Regions from separate parts of the Homo sapiens genome. Here regions 1, 3 and 4 are each linked to region 2. The links are contacts of gene promoters, found by promoter capture Hi-C in blood cells and fetal thymus (Javierre and others, 2016). All regions are on one chromosome and are shown on one strand. Each heading gives the region's core, a stretch centred on a gene start or on the middle of the fragment in contact. The rest is flanking DNA. Distances are from core to core; before and after follow the strand shown.

Region 1 (2,975 bases), core at 211-2,710, 190 kb after region 2:
GGGTCTGTTTTTTTTTTTTTAATCTTAATGTAGCACATCCCAGTCAACAGAAGATAAAAGTAACATCGAGATAAAGACCAATTTCACTTTTATTAATTAGCAAATAAATAGCAAATAAATTGCATTCTGAATATAGCATGAAATATAAACTTAAAATACCATTTAATAATGGTATTTTCTTTCTCTAAGTCCTACATTTAAAAAAAATTTTTGAGGTTGGCCTTCGTTGGTTGGGTGGGTGTGTTTGTTGATAATGGAGTGTGAATAGAATTTTTGCAAATCACAGAATTTTCTGAAGACTGGAGGCAGCTCCTCCTAAGCTCATCTCTTCCCTTCTTCATCTACAAGGCAAGCAAGGCCGAGACAGGCACCATAGCCATCTTCATGTAATTTTCCAGCCCCCTACACTGCACAGGCATAGTGGTAGGAACTTTCCTGAAGGATGATTCTTGCAGGGGTGAGTTCCAGACACCCTTGTTGACTTAATTCTCTACAAACAAAATCCTCAGGCTGGGCGCAGTAGCTCATGCCTCTAATCCCAGCACTTTGGGAGGCCGAGGCGGTCAGATCACGAGGTCAGGAGTTCGAGACCAGCCTGACCAACATGATGAAACCCCGTTTCTACTAAAAATACAAAAATTACCTGGGCATGGTGGGGCGCGCCTGTAATCCCAGCTACTCAGGAGGCTGAGGCAGGAAAACCACTTGAACCCGGGAGGCGGAGGTTGCAGTGAAGCGAGATTGCGCCATTGCACTCCGGCCTGGGTGACAGAGTGAGAATCCGTTTCAAAAAAAAAAAAAAAATCCTCAACCACAGTTGTTTAATCTGCCCCTTTTCTAGGAAGGGGATTAACTCCAAAGCCTGAGCAGACATCTGTGTTCTTGATGTGCAGAGGATGCCTTCCAAAGCAAGAGATGTGAGAAGTGAGGAGGACACAGCTGGGAGGGAAGAGATTTCCCTTGCCTTTGAAAAACGCTTCATTCTCTGCTAGCTAGGCATTCTGGGATGGGTGGGTCAGTATGTTGTTGACTGCTTTTCTTATCGCTGTACCATTTAGCATCCCCAGAAATGGCTCCTCAGGCACAGTTTTTTTTAGGCATCCATAGACCACCCTCCCCCCGCAGAGAATTATCCAGAGAAGTATCCAAGGTGCTCCATCTTTGTACAGTTTTGTAATAATCTCCACCTGTAATCAAAATAGAATCCGGGAGGTCAAGCAATCCTCCTCTTGGCCCTGCTTCAAACTGCTGAACCAAACAGAGCTCTGTGCCCTCATCTGTGAGTTGGGGGCAATGAATAATTGTTGTGGTTTATCAAAGTGGTATCACATACATCACATTTGAACCTCACAGCAACTCTCTGGTGTATTATTAGACCATTTCCCCCTTTTTATAGATGAGAAAACTGAGATTCAGAGATGTTGTAAAGCCAAAGGTCACAGTACTAATAAGTAACAGAATTGAACTCAAAATGCCTTGCTCTAACTACCAAGTGCTGCCTCCCTCACCCTCCAGAGAAAAGCCAAGAATACAGGAGATTGTCTACATGAGCTGATATGTAATGGCTCTGACAGGTTTTATTGGGATCCCTTACTCATCCAAAAATCAAAAAATTACACAGCTACAAGGCTCCTAGAACTGATCAAGCCCTGCCCCCGTTTCATTTGGCAGGTGTTGCCCAATGAGGTTGAGTGATTTGCCAAAGGTCACTCCATGAGTTCATGGAAAATGACCAATGTCATTTTTAAAAATTAGTTAAAAGTACCTTCTACCAAGCCCATTTTTATGGCTTATTTTAAGCAGGTTAATAAGTATACCAGGCACAGCTTAAACCCAACTGAGTAAATGCTGACACCAGTTTATAGATTCAGCAGATAAGTAGCAATAAGGAATTATTCATCTCTCATTTATCATCCAGCCTTTCCAAGGTGCAAGTTATAAAGTGAAGCAAATAGCAGTTCAAGAGCCCCCCACACACGTGAGATCAAAACAGTGAAAAACAAATTGATTTTCAAAGCTATACATTTATAATGCGTCTATGCCTGAGGTCTCCTGAAATATGAAAAAGAATAATACTTGGGAACATTTTTTGCATTTCAGAAATAGGCACATTTCTTATACAGAGCTCTATATTTGACCTTCAGACATATTCAATCATTAATTCATTCTTTTGAGTATGTATTGTGTACCTACTCTGTGCAGACCACTGTAGGGGATTATAGAATTACTAAAGGATATTCCAGCCATCAAGAACTTTTTAAACCTACTGAGGTGACAAAATAAAGCACACATGCATGCATGCGCGTGCGCGCATGCACACACACACACACACACACACACACTTGAATCTCAACCCTATAAATCTTTGTGTGGGGACGTTATGTGATGCCCAGAGTCAGTGGGTGTCAGGGGAGTGTGTGCATGGGGACAGGAGGGAATGGAAAGATTGCCTGGTGTGACTAGGGGAGCCACAACTAGGAACACATTGAGGAGGTGGCCTTGCCTCAACCTTCTCCCCAGTGACATATCTTTCTCATGAGAATAGTGTTAGGAAAATTCATAGGCAGAAAATAAGACAAAGAATTGATGGCCCCAATTAAGAACCTAATCCCCAAATCCCCTGAAGCACAAACTGGTGGAGAGATGGGTGAGGGAACAATGGGGGCAATAGCAGTTATAATATTTGTAATGTCTGCAGAAAATGAATAAAATCAACAGATGATTTATTTGGGAGGTGAGCACTAATGAATTCTCATGTGTTATTCAGAAAGGTCGGTTTACCTTATATTTTTATCACTCCCAGTCTTCCAGTGGTGGACCTGAGACCCAAAGTTCAATATAAATAACAAAGCAGCGGCAAATCCAATAAGCGACTTTGCTCTTAGCTGCCCAGACAAGAAGCTGCAAGACGACTTCTGGAACCTCCCATGGGTCAATTCACTGTCCCTCCCCAGGGATGGGGCCTGTTTCTTCAG
Region 2 (2,791 bases), core at 202-2,701:
CATTAATTGAATTGAAATAGGAAGACTAAGTTACCTCATCTCAAATCAGTCACTTTTTAAATCAGAAGCTCGCAGAGTTTGGAACTCATGTTTCATGTTTGGATCCATGTAGTAGGTATCAGGAAGTGAATGTAAGAGTAAATTAACAGGAGCTGCCATGGACTGAGCAGGCCCAGGGTTCTGGACATTGTTGTGAGCCCTCTGCTACCACGTGGAGAAGATCAGCTTTGGGATTTAAAGCAATTAGCCACATTCACATCAGCTTCCAGGTATTTGCAGTTTATTATGTGCTAAATACTGTAATAGATACTTTTTATGCATGAATCCATTTATTCTCACAAAACCCCTTGGGGAAGTGAAACAGATTATTTCCATAGTGTCTTAAAACCCCAGAACTCTGCGTTGCTGCGTCTATTGACATGAACACCTGTCAAACCTGCAACTCATAGCTCAGTATTGTCTCAGTCCAATCCAAGGAAATGAACTCCTTGAGAAAGCTGACATTCTGGACCATGGGGTAGAAGCTACCCTGTCTGCCTCCCACACCCACTCTCAAGGATCCAAGACTATGAAGGGAGAAGAGAGAGCCCACCGAGTGACTTCCTCTTATAAGCCAATATCAAGACACTAGTGGAAAGGAACCAGCTGACCAGTGGCTCACTGTGTCTGGCTGGACCAGCAAGACTCTGACGTCATCACAGAAGCCTTCTTGGTCCCATTGGTCCTTTGACTGCTGTGTACAGGATGCCACCCACCACTCCAGACACCACTCACCACTCTAGATGTTGGGATCCTTCTCCCGTTACCTCCATTATTCTTGTTCTCTACTCCTCTGAGTTTTCATAGCCAAGCAAATTTCCACCATTGAAGAGGCTCTGAGATCCAAGTCAACTAACTACTGGCTAGGGTACTGTAAAACACATGGGAAATTAGCTTTTACCAAACACCAATTCTATGCCCACCATTCATACCCATTCTACCATTTAATGCTGATAGTATCCTGTGAGCTAGCTATTATTAGCATCATTTAAAGACAAAGCAAAACCAGTGAGGCTGAAAGAACGGCTGCCCTGGTGCACACAGATGGCACATGGCAGAGCCCAAGCCCTCTCCATGAGATCTGCAGCGTTTGTCCACACGGCAGGGCAAATTACCTTGTAGAGTCAGCATGGAGGTTTGCTAACTCTGCCGGACTTGGTGCAGAAAAAATACCAGCCGTGCTGTTAAACCAAAACCCCAGGAGAAAACTTTCTGGTGACAGAAGGGCATTGTGACCCACGTTGCCCAGGGCCAGGGACAGGGCAGCTGCTCATGGTCCTTCCTCACGAGTTTTCCTGGAGCAGAGGGATACCCCCAAACCCAGGGAGCCCACAGGAGCTTCAGAAGGGCTCGGCTGGAGGGCGGGGCCCCTGTTGCACTTGCTCACTGGGGACTGGGGAGGCTCTGATCGCAGACCGGGGGTGCTGCCACCTCTGTCTGCTGCCGGCAGAAAGCCACAAGCCATGAAAACTGATTGAGATGAGAAGAATTCATCTGGGACTGGCTTTTGCTTTAGGATGGTGTTGGAAGTTGCTCGTTGTCGCTAGGAGCCTGCTCCACTGTAAGGGTGTCAGGATCTGAAGAGCTATGGTGAAACACCACTGAAGCATTGCCAAGGTGAGGCCCTGCGTCTTCCGGGTTCTTTATCGTCTTCCTTTAAATTGTGCAAATGGTGCTGTAAGGCCTGTAGTGGGGCAAGCAAGCAAGGACATTGCTGTGGGTGCCACAGACGGAGGAAGAGGCATGAATGGATCGCTGCCTCAGCTATGAATAGATTGCTCCATGGTTTGTGCATTTCCAGTTTTGAGAATTTTTAATTTATAAAAGGTCATCCATCCAGGGTAGATTCTGCTTTTTGGAAAAGGCAGTGAATGTGCCACAGAGGAGAGAAGGGACGTGGGATGTAGAGAGGGGGTTGAGCGGGCACACACAGGCCACTGCTGCGCTCCCGGCGAGTCACTCGGCCTCTTGATAGGAGGTGATATTGACTGTGCAGAGCTGACAGAGGTTAGTGGTCACAGGCGGGGAGCATCTGGCTCAAGGCAAATGACTGTTGCTTTCGTTTTATTTGTTTGTTTCTGAATGAAGTTGTTCCATTTTTCAGGCATTCAGGAATGGGGTAACTGAATAGATGTAATGATGATCTTCTTGTTTAAGAGATCTATTTCACCAGGAAACACCAACTGTGAAAAGGAAAGCATAGTTGATCACATATTTTGAAAGGATTTGTGTAAATTGTAAGGTTTTGACAACGTTTCCATTTATCTGGTAATGCGGGTGGATGAAGTTCACCCTCATCCACCCACATTACCAAGGAACTAAGGAATTGTGCGTTTGCAGTAACAGAAGAAATTGCTGTGATATGTGCATATCCTCCTCCCTCGGGAGAGTGGGACTTAATTCCCCTCACCTTGAGTGAGGTTTGGACTAAGAGTATGGAAAGGGAGAAATAGTAGCTCTGTAGAGGAGAAACCTGCAGATGCCAGCTTCACCAAGGGACCAAGCTTAGCATCACCGGGAATAAGCTGGGCTGCTATTGTGAACTGCCACGACAGTGCGGTTCTTCCCACCAACTCATAACCCCAGTCAAATCATGAGAAAACATCAGACAAATCCAAACTGGGGAAGATTCCACAACATATTTCACCTTCAAAAATGTCAAGGTCATGAAAAACAAAGAAAGACAGGCAAAGCGTCACAGATCAGAGGAGACATGATGGTCAGGACACCCAAACCCAGAATTCGCATCCTG
Region 3 (2,722 bases), core at 28-2,527, 240 kb after region 2:
TTATTTCCACCACCCCGATGACACAGGCTTGGCTATGAGACTTGCTTTGATCAAGAATATGTGACTCGAAGTCACTATGCAACTTCCACACAGAGGCATTAAGAGCCATTACGTGGTTCTGTCATTACTTTTTGCCCCCTGCCACGAGGCTGGCATGAACCACATAGAGGTTTTGCCTTCGGCCTGCATGTCCAATTGAAGCATACATATAGAATTTCGGCCAACTTGCAGCTGACATGTAATGTGAACAGCAAACAAATAACTATTTGTTTGTTACAGCATAACAGCTTAAACAGCACCAAACCAAGCATAAGTGTTTTATACATATACATTTGAACATGGCTAAAATATATCTCCTATATCCTAGATACACTTTTCTCATGTGTATAAACAGACATGTACAAGGATGCCTGATGAAGCATTGCTATTACAGCAAAAAACTGAAAACAATCTGAATATATATCAGTAAGTGTCTTAGCCAGTTTAGGTTGCTGTAACAGAATACCATAGAATGTGTGGCTTTAACAACGCTTATTTCTCAAAGTTCTGGAAGCCAGGAAGCCCAAGATCACGGCACTGGCAGATTGGTGTCTGGTGAGAGACCCAAGCCTGCTTTGCAGAAGACCATCATCTCACTGCATCCACTCATGGGGTGGGTGTAGGGAGATATCTATTCTGTCTTTTCTTTTCTTTTTTTTGAGGCAGAGTTTTGCTCTTGTTGCCCAGGCTGGAATGCAATGGCGCAACCTCGGCTCACTGCAACCTCCGCCTCCTGGGTTCAGGCAATTCTCCTGCCTCAGCCTCCTGAGTTGCTGGGATTACAGGCATGCACCACCATGCTCGGCTAATTTTTGTATCTTTAGTAGAGATGGGGGGGTTTCACCATGTTGGTCAGTCTGGTCTCGAACTCTTGACCTCAGGTGATCCCCCTGCCTCGGCCTCCGAAAGGGCTGGGATTACAAGAGTGAGCCACCGTGCCCAGCCTCTGTCTCTTCTTATAAGGGTACTAATCCCATTCATGAGGGCTCCGTCCGATGGCCTGTTCACCTCCCAAATGCCCAACCTCCAAATACCATCACATGTGGGTTAGGATTGCAAGATCTAAATTTGGGTTATTCACAGACGTTTAGTCCATAACCATAAAGAAATGAACAAGTAAAATGTGATTTATTAATATAATGGAAAACTGTAAATCAACTCAAATAAAGCAGATCCACATGTATAATTAAAACTGGGAAACATAATAGGCAAAAAAGAGACTGGAATTGTGGGTTACACAGAGGCATCTACTGTATCTGCAATGTTGTATTTCTTTAAAAACATCTGAAGGAAATATGGTAAAACAAAGATTTGAAAAAGCTGGTGGTGGGTTTAAGAGTGTTTGCTATATATTTTTTTCTCAGTGACTGAAATATTTCATATTTTTTAAAGAAAGCATTCATGTAAATCTTTAAAATTGCAAAGCAATGCTTATGTTCTTCAGAGGAACATTTATCCCTGTGTGTAGAAGTATATAGATTAATTGGAAGGATATACACTAAATTCAATATAGTGATTGGATAGCAGATGGTGGGGGAATAAACAGAATTGTTACAGTGTCCTTTGTGTTTTTATGTAATTTTAAAATTTCTAAAAATAAAAATGTTAATTAATGCAGTGGAAGATATCTGGAAAAACAGGAAAATTGTTAGCCACCTCTGCCCCTGGAGATGGGATCATGGTGATGGTGGAGACTTTTTGTTTGTTTGTTTGTTTCTTTCTTTCTTTCTTTTTTGAGACGGAGTTTTGCTCTTATTGCCCAGGCTGGAGTGCAATGGTGCAATCTCGGCTCACTGCAACCTCCTCCTTCCGGGTTCAAGCGATTCTTCTGCTTCAGCCTCCCCAGTAGCTGGGATTACAGGCATGTGCCACCACGCTGGCTAATTTTGTATTTTTAGTAGAGATGGGGTTTCTCCATGTTGGTCAGGCTGGTCTCGAACTCCCGACCTAAGGTCATCCGCCCGCCTCGGCCTCCCAAAATGCTGGGATTACAGGCGTGAGCCACCGCGCCTAGCTGAGACCTTTTGTTTCTACGTGACATTCTTCTGTACCGTTTGCCTGTTTGAAAAAAAAAATTTTTTTTTGAGATAGGGTTTTGCTTTGTCACCCAGGTTGGAGTGTGGTGGTGCGATCATAACTCGCTTGCAGGCCTGAAGTCCCAGGCTCAAGTGATCCTCCTACCTCAGCCTCTGGAGTAGCTGAGACTACAGGCGAGGGCCACCAAGCCCAGCTAATTATTATTTTATTTAAGAGATGTGGTGTTACTATGTTGCCCAGGCTGGTATTGAACTCCTGAGCTCAAGCCATACTCCGACCTCACAAAGGGCTGGGATTACAGGCCAGAGCCACCATGCCTGGCCTGTTTGAATTTTTGTAGCAATTAAAAATTGCGTAATTTAAACACAAATTGAAGGGGACAGGGACTAAAAACATAAATGAGAGTTAGAATGCAGTGCCACGTTGAATGCTTTCACAGGTAGGAGCCTAGAAATCATCTGTTCCAACTACTGCACTTTTGAGTTGTGGAGACCAGACCAAGAGAGGTGAAATGACTGTTGGCTAAGGCGTCCACCTCTACTTGCGTCTGGAATTGCCCCTGCCTCTGCCTTTAAGTCTGGTCTGCGTGGCTTCTGATAGCGAAGCCAGGGGCGGACCCCGTTCACTGCATCAGGAGAGCCCTGAG
Region 4 (3,090 bases), core at 274-2,773, 220 kb after region 2:
ATGTCTTCATGATTCATCCATGTTGTAGCATGTGCCAGAATTTCCTTCCTTTTTAAAGCTGAATAATGTTCCATTGTATGTGTAGACCACGTTTTGTTTATCCATTCATCCATGGATGGACACCTGAGTTGCTTCTCCGTCTTGGCTACTGTGAATAATGCTGCTATGAACATGGGTATGCAAATGAAACCTTTTGAATTTGGAGAATGTGACTATATTACCTAATTTTAAAAACATATTAAACTAATTAAGTTTTAAAAAACAGATACATGATATTCATGAATCAACCTGAAAGTAGCATCTTTTTCTTTTTTTTTTAAAGAAGATTCTCTATTTAGTGTTTATGGATGCACAGGAAAACTGCTTTAAGGCATAAGTTGTTTTTTATTAAATTTGTCTTTTACCTATTCTTTTACAATTTTGGGGGTTTTCCTTTATGCTCAAGCTTCCTCAAGATTCTTCAAGGCAGATCAAAACCATCCTCAGTGGCAATCCTGTATTTGGCTTTTGATTTTGCTTATTTCACAGGAGGTTGCTTTACTGAGAGGGGGAAATCTCTACTCCTGGTCTCAGTGCTGGTAGTGGATCTAAATCAGCAATGGGCGGACACCCCAGCCCCACACTACTGTGGCTTCCCCACTTGTGGGCACAAACAGTCACGTACTAGGCAATGGTGACCTCTCCAGGTAGGCAGTTTTCCCTCAGGTTATATTGGAGTTAGAACCTGCCTGAAAACCACTAACCGGCTGCAGCGGTGGGATTGTGTGAAGAACAAGTTACCTTCCTCCAGGGCAAGGTGATTCTTTTAAACAAATTTTAAGACAATTTAGTTGTACTGAATTTAGAGCTGAAGCCAGTTGCAAATGTAGCTGCTTGTGTCTGCATAAGAAAGAGGAAGTATGCTAGTTTTCCTTTCCTTGTTCCAGAAGAGGGCAGTTCTTGCCAACGCGAGCTGCTGCTTTAAGAACTTGAAGCAACTTTTCTGACATCTGAAACTATTTGTCTTTTGGGAACTTATTTGTCCTAGCCTGCCTGCAGAACCAGCTGTTAAGGCTCTGTTGGGAAGGAGTATCGCTCTGCTATATTGACCTCTGGTAGACCATGACATGGCCCCATATGCCATACAACATAAACTGGTTACTAAGAGTAATTTAATGGCTATCTCTAGAGCTACTCTTTTGTTACCTTCTAAAGAAGGCAGGGAAGAAAATATAAATGGGGTTATAATAGGAATAATCTTGAATCTGTTTTAATTTATACAAAATACATTTATAAGTTTTGGCACATTCACGTTTGGATACTGGCTAACAACTTTTTAGCGAGAGTAGCCTGTATCTTGCATGTCATTCCATTGAACAGTAAGGTGGATCCCTGTCAATGAAGAAATCATCTGATGCCAGGGACTTTGAAGTCTTTCTCCAAGAGGTAGATACGATGATCTCTGTTTTGCTGGAAAGAAAGCTGATACCCAGAAAGAGCCTGTAATCTCAGGTCCCCGTGGGTAGTAAACAGCCCTGGTTTGGAACCCAGGTAAGTCCAACCTGCAGGATTGTACTTTCCCCCTTTCCCCACACTTTGTATTTGCCAAATCTGATATGAGGGCACTTGGCTCTTCAGAACCAGAAGCTATGTGTGATTGAAGGGCTCTATTAAACCTTAGGATTTTCCATGACTTGTCGCTCCCATCCGCTTCCTCTCCCCAGGGTAGCTTCTTGTCTGAGTTTCCGTTTGCTTCCCACCAATCACTGTCTCTCTAGGAGCAATGTCGTCCTACGGAATCTTCCGTATCATTCCTCAACTGTAAGCTCTGCAGTTCAGGAATGCAATGTTAGGAATCCCAGTGTTGCACAAACTTCCTTTCTAGCCGTTGGATTCTGGTGTGCAGAGAACTAAAGAGACTTCCCAGGATTCAGACCCTTCCAATGGGAGGATTCTCCTAACTCTAGGGGAACTGTTGGCTGCTTAAGAGCAAAACCATATGGCTCACTCAAAAATCCCTTTCCTAAGAGAAATCTATAACTGACCCTCTGTGTTCCCTTTTCTCTGAAGATTTCAAATATATTTGTGGTAAAAGCAGAGAAAGAAGAGGAGAAAATCATAATAAAAGCACAATAATGATGATTTTAGTAAAGATAAGAATGGGGCATGGATCAAGACAATGACTAAAACCCCAGGCAGGAAAAGCCCCGTGGAATTGGTCTGAACTGAATGTAGCAGCCCATCAGTGGAAGTTTTCTTGTTTCTGGCAGGTGGCCTATGCTTTTATCTATTACTGCTCTGTAATCAGAATTGAGCCACGATATTCAAGTTTCTTATCTGAATGATGGGAATTTGGTTTTCTGGCCTTCTGCATTTTGCAGGAGCCCAAGAATTGACCTGATGTTTTAAAATATATTTTCCCTCCAAAGGAGGAGTAAAATCCAGACAGGTGGGCCATTCTGTGTGTTTAAAGTCATTGAAAAGCCTCTGCAAGTAAAATTTGAGGCTGTCTGTAACCCACATTGAATAGTTACAGATATATTTTATTTTGGAGGATAAAAAATCAAGAAGTTACTACCACAATTTGGTGGGAATTTTGAATTTTGGAGTTTTCCTTTGTACTCAAGCTTCCTCACGATTCTTCCAGGCAGATCAAAGCCATGGGTTTTGGGATCCCCTAATCGCAAATCCAGTTTTGCTTCTTAAAATCTAATCAGTCCTTAAGTTATTTTTTAAATCTTCCTTTCTACTCCCCAGTTGAAATCTCCATTTCTACTTCTAGAAATCCAGTCAAACCTTATCGCCTCCATTTAGAACTGATCGATAGCAACTGGTGAGCAGGTTAATTATAATCGCAGAATAAACGCTGAAGTCTCAAAGTTCACCACTTTTGCAATGTTTCCAAACCCCTCGGGACCATGCCAGGAGGCGCTCATTGACCCATTCCGAGCAGGTGTGGGAGTTTGAACCAGGGGCAGACAATCAGATCTGATTCAAACAACTCAATTTGGTTGCTTATCTAGAGGTTTTCCTATCTTATGATATCTGTCATTTTAGATAAAAAAGAGTTCATCAATTGAGCTGGGAAATGGCAAAGTTACATTTTATTCT

What was found. The method cuts DNA at HindIII sites, captures the fragments that hold promoters and counts their contacts. A CHiCAGO score of 5 or more calls a contact.
Region 1: a contact is called between a fragment that was not itself captured here and the fragment with the promoter of BLK in region 2, in 2 of 17 cell types (total B cells and naive B cells). The highest score is 12.4, in total B cells.
Region 3: a contact is called between a fragment that was not itself captured here and the fragment with the promoter of BLK in region 2, in 1 of 17 cell types (total B cells). The highest score is 5.4, in total B cells.
Region 4: a contact is called between a fragment that was not itself captured here and the fragment with the promoter of BLK in region 2, in 2 of 17 cell types (naive B cells and total B cells). The highest score is 16.4, in naive B cells.

Annotation. Positions count from the first base shown.
Region 1 is chr8:11,686,210-11,689,184 of GRCh38, forward strand. It overlaps a transcript of GATA4 not described here. Among named protein-coding and RNA genes, the nearest start is that of GATA4, 17 kb to the right of the region's middle. The HindIII fragment of the contact is 8,153 bases long and covers 1-2,975 here.
Region 2 is chr8:11,492,936-11,495,726 of GRCh38, forward strand. BLK (BLK proto-oncogene, Src family tyrosine kinase) reads left to right here and starts at 1,452. Exons shown (of 13, transcript NM_001715.3): 1 at 1,452-1,656. RefSeq lists cis regulatory regions at 1-71, 145-1,765 and enhancers at 1,385-2,584, 1,474-1,663, 1,674-1,763. The HindIII fragment of the contact is 7,699 bases long and covers 1-2,541 here.
Region 3 is chr8:11,733,806-11,736,527 of GRCh38, forward strand. All of the region lies in intron 2 of GATA4 (GATA binding protein 4), which reads left to right. Among named protein-coding and RNA genes, the nearest start is that of LINC02905, 26 kb to the right of the region's middle. RefSeq lists enhancers at 1,950-2,450, 2,595-2,644. The HindIII fragment of the contact is 3,923 bases long and covers 1-2,722 here.
Region 4 is chr8:11,716,005-11,719,094 of GRCh38, forward strand. The region is part of intron 2 of GATA4 (GATA binding protein 4); the gene reads left to right. Among named protein-coding and RNA genes, the nearest start is that of SNORA99, 12 kb to the left of the region's middle. RefSeq lists an enhancer at 2,784-2,928 and a cis regulatory region at 2,850-2,863. The HindIII fragment of the contact is 2,161 bases long and covers 444-2,604 here.